Regions from separate parts of the Homo sapiens genome. Here all the other regions are linked to region 1. The links are contacts of gene promoters, found by promoter capture Hi-C in blood cells and fetal thymus (Javierre and others, 2016). All regions are on one chromosome and are shown on one strand. Each heading gives the region's core, a stretch centred on a gene start or on the middle of the fragment in contact. The rest is flanking DNA. Distances are from core to core; before and after follow the strand shown. Region 1 holds the start of ZFY (zinc finger protein Y-linked). Region 2 has its middle 31 kb from the start of RPS4Y1. Region 3 overlaps ZFY (zinc finger protein Y-linked). Region 4 has its middle 38 kb from the start of ZFY.

Region 1 (2,521 bases), core at 10-2,509:
AAAAATAGGTATGCTAGAAAACTGAAATACCTGGCCTCTACATTTAGAGATTACCGGCTCTGGCCCACAGGCTGCAGTGCAGTGGCTTGATCACAGCTGTCCGCCTGTATCTGCTGGCCTCAAGCGATACTCCAGCCTTGTCCTCCCAAAGCGCTCAGAGGTGAGCGACCGCGATAGGCATGTTTAACTTTTTAGTAGCAACTTTTAAACACAGTTTGGGTACCTAGTTTAATGGGAAATTAGAGTGCATTAAAACGTAAAGTAATGAAAACGCACAATACACGTTTTTGGAGTTCATCAGTACTATCTGTTTAATCAAATGCATTTTCCTCTCAGTCTCTAAAGCCTTTTTAAACTTTAAGAGGATAAATAATTTTGTAAGAAGACAATCCCAAAACCAATTGTTAGTTTACATTTATTAAAGGGTGTGCATAATTCATTGTTCATGAGACAATTACACAAAACTGACATTTCAAGGATGCCAAAAGATGAAACACTGCCATAAAGAACACACACTAGACATTACAAATCTTGGTCAAAATACCTACGTTAACGCAAAAAAAAAAATCAATTGGCTCAGTAATTGATTAGGATAATCCTCCCCTCCTCTTGCCTGTACACTGTGGCAAGTCCATTTACTTTCTTTTTTTTTTTTTTTAAAGCCAACAAAGGAGACAGTGGGGAATGCTATATGTCTGTATCTGCTTTCCTCCTCAACCCTAGGAATAAAGTAAACACGTTTACTGAGGGCGGGGGTCTAAGGGCCTGCAACAATGAGATCTGTCGCCTTGGCTAGGACTGGCGCCGAGAGGCGATAGGTCTCGGGAGAGCCTGGCGCAGGGTGTGGGAGATTAGGAATCCCAGGTCCACCGGAGATGGCAGGGGGTGGCCTGGCCCGGTGCGGGGCCGCTTGCCTGCACGCAACCAACTAAGGCGGTGGTGCGCAAGTAGTGGTGACGGCGGGCGCGCGGAGAAAAGGAACGTTGTGACGGAAACTCCAGCTGCCGGAGACCCCACCGCAGTGAGGTCACTGGACTCCCCGGACTCGGGGCGTGACCGGCGCCGACCCGGGGCGCCGAGAGGCCCACCGGGCGGAGGGGGCCCAACTACCATCCCGCATTTTCCTGGGTCTCTCTCCCGGGCGGTGACGTGACGTGCTGACGGCGGGCCCGTGCCGGGGAGCTGGGCCGCTTTTTGTCAGCTCCGAACTCGGCCCCTCCTCCCTCCCTCCGCCCGCCCTACCAGCCGGAGCCCGGCCCAGTGCTCCAGAGAAAGGCCGTCCTGCAGCACCCGCCGCTGTCGCCGACCGCCCGCACATCCGTCGGGTGAGTCCCGCGTGCCCCCGCGGCCGCGGGGCCTAGTGCGCGCGCAGTAACCTGTTTGTGGCCTGGTCGGCGTCCCGTAGGGCGCCCTCCCGCGCTAGGCCGGCCGGCGTGGCGCTCGGCGCCGAACAGGCCCCGAGGAGGCCGCAGTTAGGCCTAGTGATTATCCAGTTGCCCTGAGCGGCTGCGGAGGTGCGCTCCATAAGCGGGCAGGGTGGGAAAAGTTCGCCCGTTTGTCCGGAAGGCAGTTGATGGACCTGGGGTCGACACCACTGCGGACGCAGGGCACGGCACGGGGGCGAGAAGGCGAAGGCTGCAGGCGTGAGGTGAAGGCCGGAGGCCTGCTGGGCCTATTTTCGCTATGTAAATGTCCGCGAAGGGGAGGAGGGACGGGGGGGCAAGATGGCGGCTGCTAGGCGCCTGCTGCTGGGGAGTATTGAGAGTGTTGTCGGGAGGCGGAGCCGCCATCTTGAAGGCGGTATCTGGAAAAAAAATTCGGTTATGATCCTTGAGGCGGGGATGGGGAAAAGGACGGCGGCGGCGGCGGCAGCGCAGCCTCCGGCGCGACGGCGTGTCTGCGCAACAGGGCGTGCTCGTTCCCTTGGCGGCCCTTGCCTTTGTCGCCATATGCGCGCGTACGTTCCAGACGCCTGCGGCAGCGCCACCTTTCGGCCTTCCCCTCACAGCCCATCCTTGGCTGGGTGCAGTGTCGGCTACGCTTTAGGTGACATGCCGCAGGCGTCCGTTCGGGCGCCGGGGTCATTTCGCCCCTCAGCGCTCCCGGCTCTGTGCCCTTCCGAGAGTCTACAGCCACCCGTTTCAGCAGGTGGCAATTCGGGCATCTAGGCTCACGAGAGCACATAAATTCCAGAAAATTTTATTTTCCCCTAATTAAAGTCATTATGTGGCTGTTCGGGGACCTTCGATGCGCTTATTTTTCAACCATCATTGCCTCTTCGAGGATCTGCAAAATAGAACTGGAATTTATTATGAAAAAGTTATTAGGCACTCGTCCAATAGACAGTACAGTACAAATTATACAGCACGAGGGCAGAGGAATAAAATTTCCCCAAGGCGACTTTTCCCATTTATGTGGAAACACTTTTTTGATGAGCTGTATTTAAACGAGCGAGCTTTTTTTTAGTCCGTGTACTTTTTTTGAGTAAGAGATGGAAAATAGGCAGAAGAGGTATTTTTCT
Region 2 (2,521 bases), core at 9-2,508, 62 kb before region 1:
GGAATTCTCTCTTAGGAATGTGTTTGCTGTAACTCTTGTTTTCTCAGAGATTATGTAGAATTATGTTCTTAAAGATATATGGTAGATTATCTTCTATTTTTCATAGGATTAGGTAGAATTGATGTTATTTCTTTAGATGGTATCTTTTGAGTTTTTTTTTTAGGAGTCAACATTTTAAATTATACATTTAATTCTGTGAATAGTTATGGGACAATTTAAAGTATCTCTATCGATGGGTGGAAGTGCTGTGTCTGTTGGTTTTTGTTTTGTTTTGAGACAAAGTCTCAGTCTGTCATTCAGTCTGGAGTGTGGTGACATAATCATGGCTCTCAATAGACTCAAACTCCTGAGCTCAGGTGAGCTTCCTGCCTCAGTATCCCAAGTAGCTGGGACCACAGCCACACACCACCATGCCAGGGTGCTGAGACCAGTTCAGTCGGGGAGACCCTAACCCAGCGGGCGCTGGAGGAATTAAAGACACACACACACAGATATAGAGGTGTGAAATGGGAAATCAGGGGTCTCAGCCTTCAGAGCTGAGTGCCCCGAACAGAGATTTACTCACATATTTATTAACAGCAAACCAGGCATTAGCATTGTTTCTATAGATATTAAATTAACTAAAAGTATCCCTTAAGGGAAACAAAGGGATGGGCCAAATTAAAGGAATAGGTTTGGTTAGTTAACTGCAGCAGGAACACGCCCTTAAGACACAGATCGCTCATGCTATTGTTTGTGGCTTAAAAACGTCGTTCAGCGGTTTTCCGCCCTGGGTGGGCCAGGTGTTCCTTGCCCTCATTCCCGTAAACCCACAACCTTCCAGCTTGGGCGTTAGGGCCATTATGAACATGTTACACTGCTGCAGAAATTTTGTTTATGGCCAGTCTTGGGGCCAGTTTATGGCCAGATTTTGGGGGGCTTGCTCCCAACACCATGGTAATTTTTTTTTTAAACTTATTTGTAGAGATGGTGTCTCACCATTTTGCCCAGGCTGGTTTTTAACTGGGCTCAAGCAGTCCTCCTGCCTCAGCCTCCCAAAGTGTTGAGGTTACAAGGGTGAGCCACCATGCCCAGCATCTGTGTGCTTTCTGAGAAATGTGTCCATTTTGTCAAAGATTCAAATTTATGTGTGTATAATTATTTATAGTATTCCCATATTGAGTGTGTATGTATGTGTGTGTAAGGTGTATAGGGTCTGTAAAGCAGAATACCCTGTTTTATCCTGATCATGATATTTATTTCTTCATCTTTGTCAGTCTTACTAGAAAGAGGTTGGTCAATTTTATCAATCTTTACACAACCATTCTGTGTTTCAATGACTTTTTTTTTTTTTTTTTTTAAGATGAAGTCTCACTGTGTTGCCCAGGCTGGAGTGCAGTGGCATACTCTTGGCTCACTGCAACCTCCGCATCCCAGGTTCAAGTGATTCTCCTGCCTCAGTCTGCCAAGTAGCTGGGATTACAGGCACCTGCCTCCAACCTGGCTAAATTTTGTATTTATTTTTAGTGGAGATGGGGTTTCACCATGTTGACCAGGCTAGCCTTGAACTCCTGATCTCAAGTGATCTGCTTGTGTTGGCCTCCCAAAGTGCTGCGATTACAGGTGGTGACCCACCATGTCCAGCCTGTTTCATTGATTTTTATCTATTGTTTCTCTTTTCTATTTGATAGATTTGTATACTTTATTTTTTTTCCTTTTGCTTGCTTTGGATTATTTTTGCCCTTCTCTATACAAGTTATTAAAATGGAAGTGTACATTATTGAAATGTATTCTCTTTTCCCATGTTTTAATTTAATGCCATAATTTTACCTGTCAGCACGCCTTCTCCTTTTACCTTCATCTGATCTGAAATGTGTTTTCAAATTTATCCAGCTCAATGTATTATTTTATTGTTTCTTGACACTTTTCCTTTAACCCTCTGATTATTGAAGGATTCTTGCTTGACCCAAGGGATAATCGTCCCAGTGTATGGAGATTTTCCTGTTATAATTTTCTTACTGATTTCTACTTTAGTTTTGTTGTAGTTTGGGAACACACTGGATTATTGTAATTCTTTTTTATTTGTTGAGTTTTGTTTGATGGCAGAGGAACCTTGAAAATAATGTGTATTTTGCATTTAGCAGAGTGTTCCATAAATGTTCATTAGATGGTTTTGGGTGATGGTGTTACTGAGAGGTCTCTTTTTTGTTGATTTTCTTTCTAGTTGTCTGGTGAATTTTTTTGATAAAGGATGTTGGCCTTTCGAACTATAATAGATTTGTCTTTTTCTTTTATATTTTTTAGGTTTTGCTTGACATATTTTCAGTTCTGTTTCTTGCTGCATGGACAGTTCAGATTGCTGTTTCTTCTAGGTTGTTTTATTTAGCATTATACAATATCCTTTACATCGCTGATAATTTTATCTTCTCTAGTCTACTTTATCTGGTAATATATCTATCCACTCCTGTTCTGCTTTTCACTTTTGAACTTTTCAGCCTGTCTGTACTTTTATATGAAAGTGAGTTTCTTGTAGATAGTAAAT
Region 3 (2,521 bases), core at 15-2,514, 41 kb after region 1:
AAAGTAAACAGGTTACTTTTTTTCATTGATACTTAACATTTAGTTTAGGTTATTTAGATTGGAAAATTTGAACTCTTTTCCAAAGACAACTTTTAAGACATATTTTTGAGTTAGTAATATAAAAATACACTAAAACGTGTAAGCAAAATATGTGAAAATGAACTCTCAAATAATTTTTGGAGCTTTCATATTCTCTGATAGGTGGAACTGTAGACATTGTGGAGAGTGAACCTGAAAATGATCATGGAGTTGAACTACTTGATCAGAACAGCAGTATTCGTGTTCCCAGGGAAAAGATGGTTTATATGACTGTCAATGACTCTCAACAAGAAGATGAAGATTTAAGTATGTGGCTTTTTAAAAAAAAATTTTTACTTTAAGTTCTGGGGTACATGTGCTGAATGTGCAGATTTGTTACATAGATATACATGTGCCATGGTGGTTTGCTGCACCTATCAACCCATCATCTAGGCTTTTAAGCCCCCCATCCATTAGGTATTTGTCCTAATGCTCTCTCTCCCCTTGCACCCCACCCCACAGTGGGCCCCAGTGTGTGATGTTCCCCTCCGTGTGTCCATGTGTCCTCATTGTTCAGCTCCCACTTACGAGTGAGAACATGTGACGTTTGGTTTTCTGTTCTTGTGTTAGTTTGCTGAGGATGATGGTTTCCAGCTTCATCCATGTCCCTGCAAAGGACATGAGCTTATTCTTTTTTATGGCTGCATAGTATTCCATGATGTATATGTGCCAGTATGTGGCTTTTTTTGTGGGAGAGGGTTTTATGTTTCTACAAGGTGTGTTTTTTTTTTTTTTTTGAGACAGAGTCTTATTCTGTTGCCAGGCTGGATGGAGTGCAGTGGAGCAATCTCCGCTCACTGCAGCTTCCACCTCCTGGGTTCAAGCAGTTCTCCTGCCTCAGCCTCCCAAGTAGCTGAGACTACAGGCACGTGCCACCACACCCAGCTAATTTTTGTATTTTTAGTAGAGATGAGGGTTTCACCATGTTGGCCAGGATGGTCTCGATCTCTTGACCTCGTGATCCGCCCACCTTGGTCTCCCAAAGTGCTGGGATTACAGGCGTGAGCCACTGTGCCCTGCCCAAGCTGTCGTCTTTTTTTTTAATGTAACCAATATTTGAAAAAAAATAAGCAGCGCTGTTGTAGAGATTACTGTGTTGCCGTATTCCAAGAATAGATATCAGTGACTATGTATGTTTTGATAGTTGCTTTATAAACTAATTATGGTGAAAGCCAAGAAACGAATAATTCAACCAATGTTTATTTTTTCCTACTAATGAATTTTTTCTGTGTGATCTCTGTAAACCTAGTCACAAAAAATTTTTTATTTATTTTGTGCTTAGATGTTGCTGAAATTGCTGATGAAGTTTATATGGAAGTGATCGTAGGAGAGGAGGATGCTGCTGTTGCAGCAGCAGCAGCTGCTGTGCATGAGCAGCAAATTGATGAGGATGAAATGAAAACCTTCGTACCAATTGCATGGGCAGCAGCTTATGGTAACTTACATAGAAGCCAGAAGGATTGAGTAGTTTTTGAACATTAATTCACTGTTGAAAGTGGTTTCTGTTGGCCAGGCGTGGTGGCTCATGTCTGTAATCCCAGCACTTTGGGAGGCTGAGGCAGGCGGATCACGAGGTCAGGAGATTGAGACCATCCTGGCTAACATGGTGAAACCCTGTCTCTACTAAAAAATATTTTTAAAAAATTAGCCAGACGTGGTGGCAGGCACCTGTAATCCCAGCTACTGAGGAGGCTGAGGCAGGAGAATGGCGTGAACCTGGGAGGTGGAGCTTGCAGTGAGCTGAGATTGCGCCACTGCACTCCAGCCTGGGCAGCAGAGCAAGACTCCATCTCAAAAAAAAAAAAAAAAAAAAAAAAAAAAAAAAAAAAAAGGGTTTTTTTTAGGGTTTCATGATTTAAGCAAAAGTAGAGGAGGATTAAATAGTCTCCCTGTTGCCTTTAATTTTAACATGAACTTCTTTTATTATGTAAGAAGTGTGGGAGCTTTCAGTCTAACATTTTAAATCTTGGTTTATAGGTGACACATAACTTTACAATTTTTGGGAGATAGCAGGGAGTCCAGTAGAGCAGCATGCTGCTAGATACGGAAGCTAGGCACTTCCCCTGGTCTTGCCATATATATGCCCATAAAACACATGGTCTACAATTGGGGGCCAGGTGTGGCTCTTGCCTGTAATCCCAGCACTTTGGGAGTCTGAGGCAGGTGGATGACCTGAGGTCAGGAGTTCAAGATCAGCCTGGCCAATATGGTGAAACCTCCTCTCTACTAAAAATACAAAAAAATGAGATGGGTGTGATGGCGTTGTTCCTGTAATCCCAGCTATTCAGGATGCTGAGGCAGGATAATCACTTGAACCTGAGAGGAGGAGGTTGCAGTGAGCCAAGATTACACCTCTGTACTCCAGCCTGGGTGACAGAGCAAGACTCTGTCTCAAAAAAAAAAAAAAAAAAAAAAAAAAAAGAATAAAAATAAATAAAGTAAG
Region 4 (2,521 bases), core at 12-2,511, 38 kb before region 1:
CAAAAATGCCTTTCATGTTTCAGTTTTTAGTATTTCCAGGCTCAAAGGACTGTGGTACCAGTAGAAATTTCCTGCCATTATGAGTGTGCTTTTTCTTGAGTGAATACCTTGTTAGTTGTAGAAGATCCGTAACTACTTTCTAAATTTCCCACAGACTACTTTGGTCAGTATATTGTTGTTTACTTGGTATTTCTGTTGTGAGCACAAGGACTTACAGACTTCAAGTCTCCAACTCTTCTGATTTTTCTTCTTCTCTTATATTTTTACAATTGTAGCTTTTACCCATGTTAAAGTGAGTTTTGTTTTTCCTAAATGATTGGCCTGGTTATTGGCCAGAACAAACTTGAAGAACATAGCATAGTTTGCTCTGCTATTAAGACTAATATGCTTATGAAAAATATGATCTTCCAGTTCTTTACTTATTTTCATTTAAAGCTATTCTAATCTTTTCAGCTCCTGACAAGCTTAGGAAAGCATTTTTGCATTTTTAAAGGAGAAAAGAATATATAATGAAATTTTTAAAAAATTAGGCTGAGTTGTTTTGTGTATTGTCATGGCTTCTTAAAGGGACTTAGAGTGCTCTTTATTGGCTGGTTTCTAATATCATAGGAATATCATAATGTTCCTAATGTGTAGAAATATTATGATAGAGGAAGATAAGCATATATATAGTGGCAACATTTTGCTGGCTTTCTTTCTTATATATGCTGACCAGAACTTATCTGAAGAGATAATACAGACCTTTATGTATACGAGGGCATATAATGAGAACAAATTTAAATTTAGAATTATGCAGGTTAAACCAGTTATGTCATGATTGTGTGGCAATGCTGACCAAATGGATTTAAAATTTATGTCTTCATTTACATTCATTTTGCAATTTAATTGGATGGGGTCGGAACAGAAGAGGAATGACCATCAAGCCAAAAGTAGATGGTGACTGAAGAATCAAAATTAAATGTATTTTGATGAAGTCAGAATTTCTCTTAGCAACTTCGGGTTACATACTTAAAGCAAAATTAGTTTTTTTTTTGGTGACAGAAATTCAACTTCTACTACTTAAATAGTAGAATCTAAAATAAATGTCAAACTTGGCATATTGGTGAATTTAATCTACATTTTAGCATACTTTGATCATTGCTAAACATTTCCAGATTTGTAGATTCATGCAGTTTTGAAATGAAATTGCTTATTACAACTGGCCCTTGCCTTACCACAAATACCACTGGACCTAGTTGAAATGAAGTTTTTCTTTTTATTTTTTCATGATTCAGTTTTTAGTATGTCCAGGCTTGAAGGACTGTGGTACCAGTAGAAACTGGGAAGACAAAAACTGTCTTTCAGAACTGGCTCCTGTTTTGCCCCATGTATGCTACCTTGCCTTATCTTTAAAATTTATGGTGAAAATGAAATTAATAGGATCCAATTAATTTTTTTAATTTTGAGTTGGAGCATGAGCACTAATATACATAAAGAGACTTCCAGAACTCCCTTGACTCTATTCTTAGATTGCAAAATTGGAAGGTGAAGACAGTTCTAGTCACCTTCTCCCTGATGCCCTACACTTATTTCTCATTGGTTACTCCTAAAATTCAACAGTCTTTTCTTATTGGAAAATATGGTGACAAACACCAAATGCTTCTACATAAGTAATGAGGATCTTTCCAGTTCTTTTATATTTTGTCTTAACTAATTAATTGATAATCTTAGAAAACAGATTCTAATCCTAGCATTTGTTTCTGCTATGAAATAGCAAGTATTTGTCTTTTTTCTTAAAATAATCATGTGAAGTTATTAATGCTTGAAAAAATTGGAGCTTGTAGAAGGCAAGATCCTGATATTTTATTTTAAACAAATAATACCCCAAGTTAAGCAAATTATAGTTTTATTTAATGATTCATTTTTATTAGGCAACAAATAGTGAATGATTGTGAGTCTATTTATAATTGACTTTTTGATTAGCTAGTCAATAACTAGTGTTTAGAAAATTGGTAGTTTGGGATATTATAGACTGAATGGCTCAAAAGGATCTTTTGAATTGTTGATTATATTGTGAAAAGAAGCTTGAGGATGGCATTAACATTTAAGCTCTTGGAGGCACAGGGACCATAAATTTCTTTTAAGAGCAATTAGGTGTGGTTTTCCCCCTGGATAAATACATTAAGCCAAGCAGTTTTGCATATGATTTTACTGGTCTCACAGAGCCTTAGGAGTCATCCCATAAATGTCACATTAATTAGGATTCATATAATTTAAGCATTTCACAATGTACATCTATATCAGAACATGACATTTTACAATGCTTGTAAACTGTATCTTAATTAATTAATTAATTAAATTAAATTTTTTTTTGAGACAGAGTCTCACTCTGTCTCCATGGCTGGAGTGCAGTGGCATGATCTCAGGTCACTGCAACCTTTACCTACTGGGTTTAAGCAATTCTCCTGCCTCAGCCTCCTGAGTAGTTGGGATTACAGGTGCACACCACCACGCCCAGCTAATTTTTGTGTTTTTAGTGGAG

Evidence for each region. Contacts are between HindIII fragments. The CHiCAGO score rates a contact against its expected background, and 5 or more counts as called.
Region 2: a contact is called between a fragment that was not itself captured here and the fragment with the promoter of ZFY in region 1, in 9 of 17 cell types (naive CD4 T cells, naive CD8 T cells, total CD8 T cells and 6 more). The highest score is 10.9, in naive CD4 T cells.
Region 3: a fragment that was not itself captured here is called in contact with the fragment with the promoter of ZFY in region 1 in 14 of 17 cell types (naive CD4 T cells, non-activated CD4 T cells, neutrophils and 11 more); the score reaches 13.5 in naive CD4 T cells.
Region 4: a fragment that was not itself captured here is called in contact with the fragment with the promoter of ZFY in region 1 in 13 of 17 cell types (M0 macrophages, naive CD4 T cells, naive CD8 T cells and 10 more); the score reaches 10.4 in M0 macrophages.

Annotation. Positions count from the first base shown.
Region 1 is chrY:2,934,122-2,936,642 of GRCh38, forward strand. ZFY (zinc finger protein Y-linked) reads left to right here and starts at 1,260. Exons shown (of 8, transcript NM_003411.4): 1 at 1,260-1,648. The HindIII fragment of the contact is 5,223 bases long and covers 1-2,521 here.
Region 2 is chrY:2,871,741-2,874,261 of GRCh38, forward strand. No RefSeq gene overlaps it. Among named protein-coding and RNA genes, the nearest start is that of RPS4Y1, 31 kb to the left of the region's middle. The HindIII fragment of the contact is 6,134 bases long and covers 1-2,521 here.
Region 3 is chrY:2,975,310-2,977,830 of GRCh38, forward strand. ZFY (zinc finger protein Y-linked) reads left to right here. Exons shown (of 8, transcript NM_003411.4): 5 at 202-345; 6 at 1,361-1,513. The region is part of intron 2 of ZFY-AS1 (ZFY antisense RNA 1); the gene reads right to left. Among named protein-coding and RNA genes, the nearest start is that of ZFY-AS1, 26 kb to the right of the region's middle. The HindIII fragment of the contact is 3,777 bases long and covers 1-2,521 here.
Region 4 is chrY:2,896,305-2,898,825 of GRCh38, forward strand. No RefSeq gene overlaps it. Among named protein-coding and RNA genes, the nearest start is that of ZFY, 38 kb to the right of the region's middle. The HindIII fragment of the contact is 1,599 bases long and covers 463-2,061 here.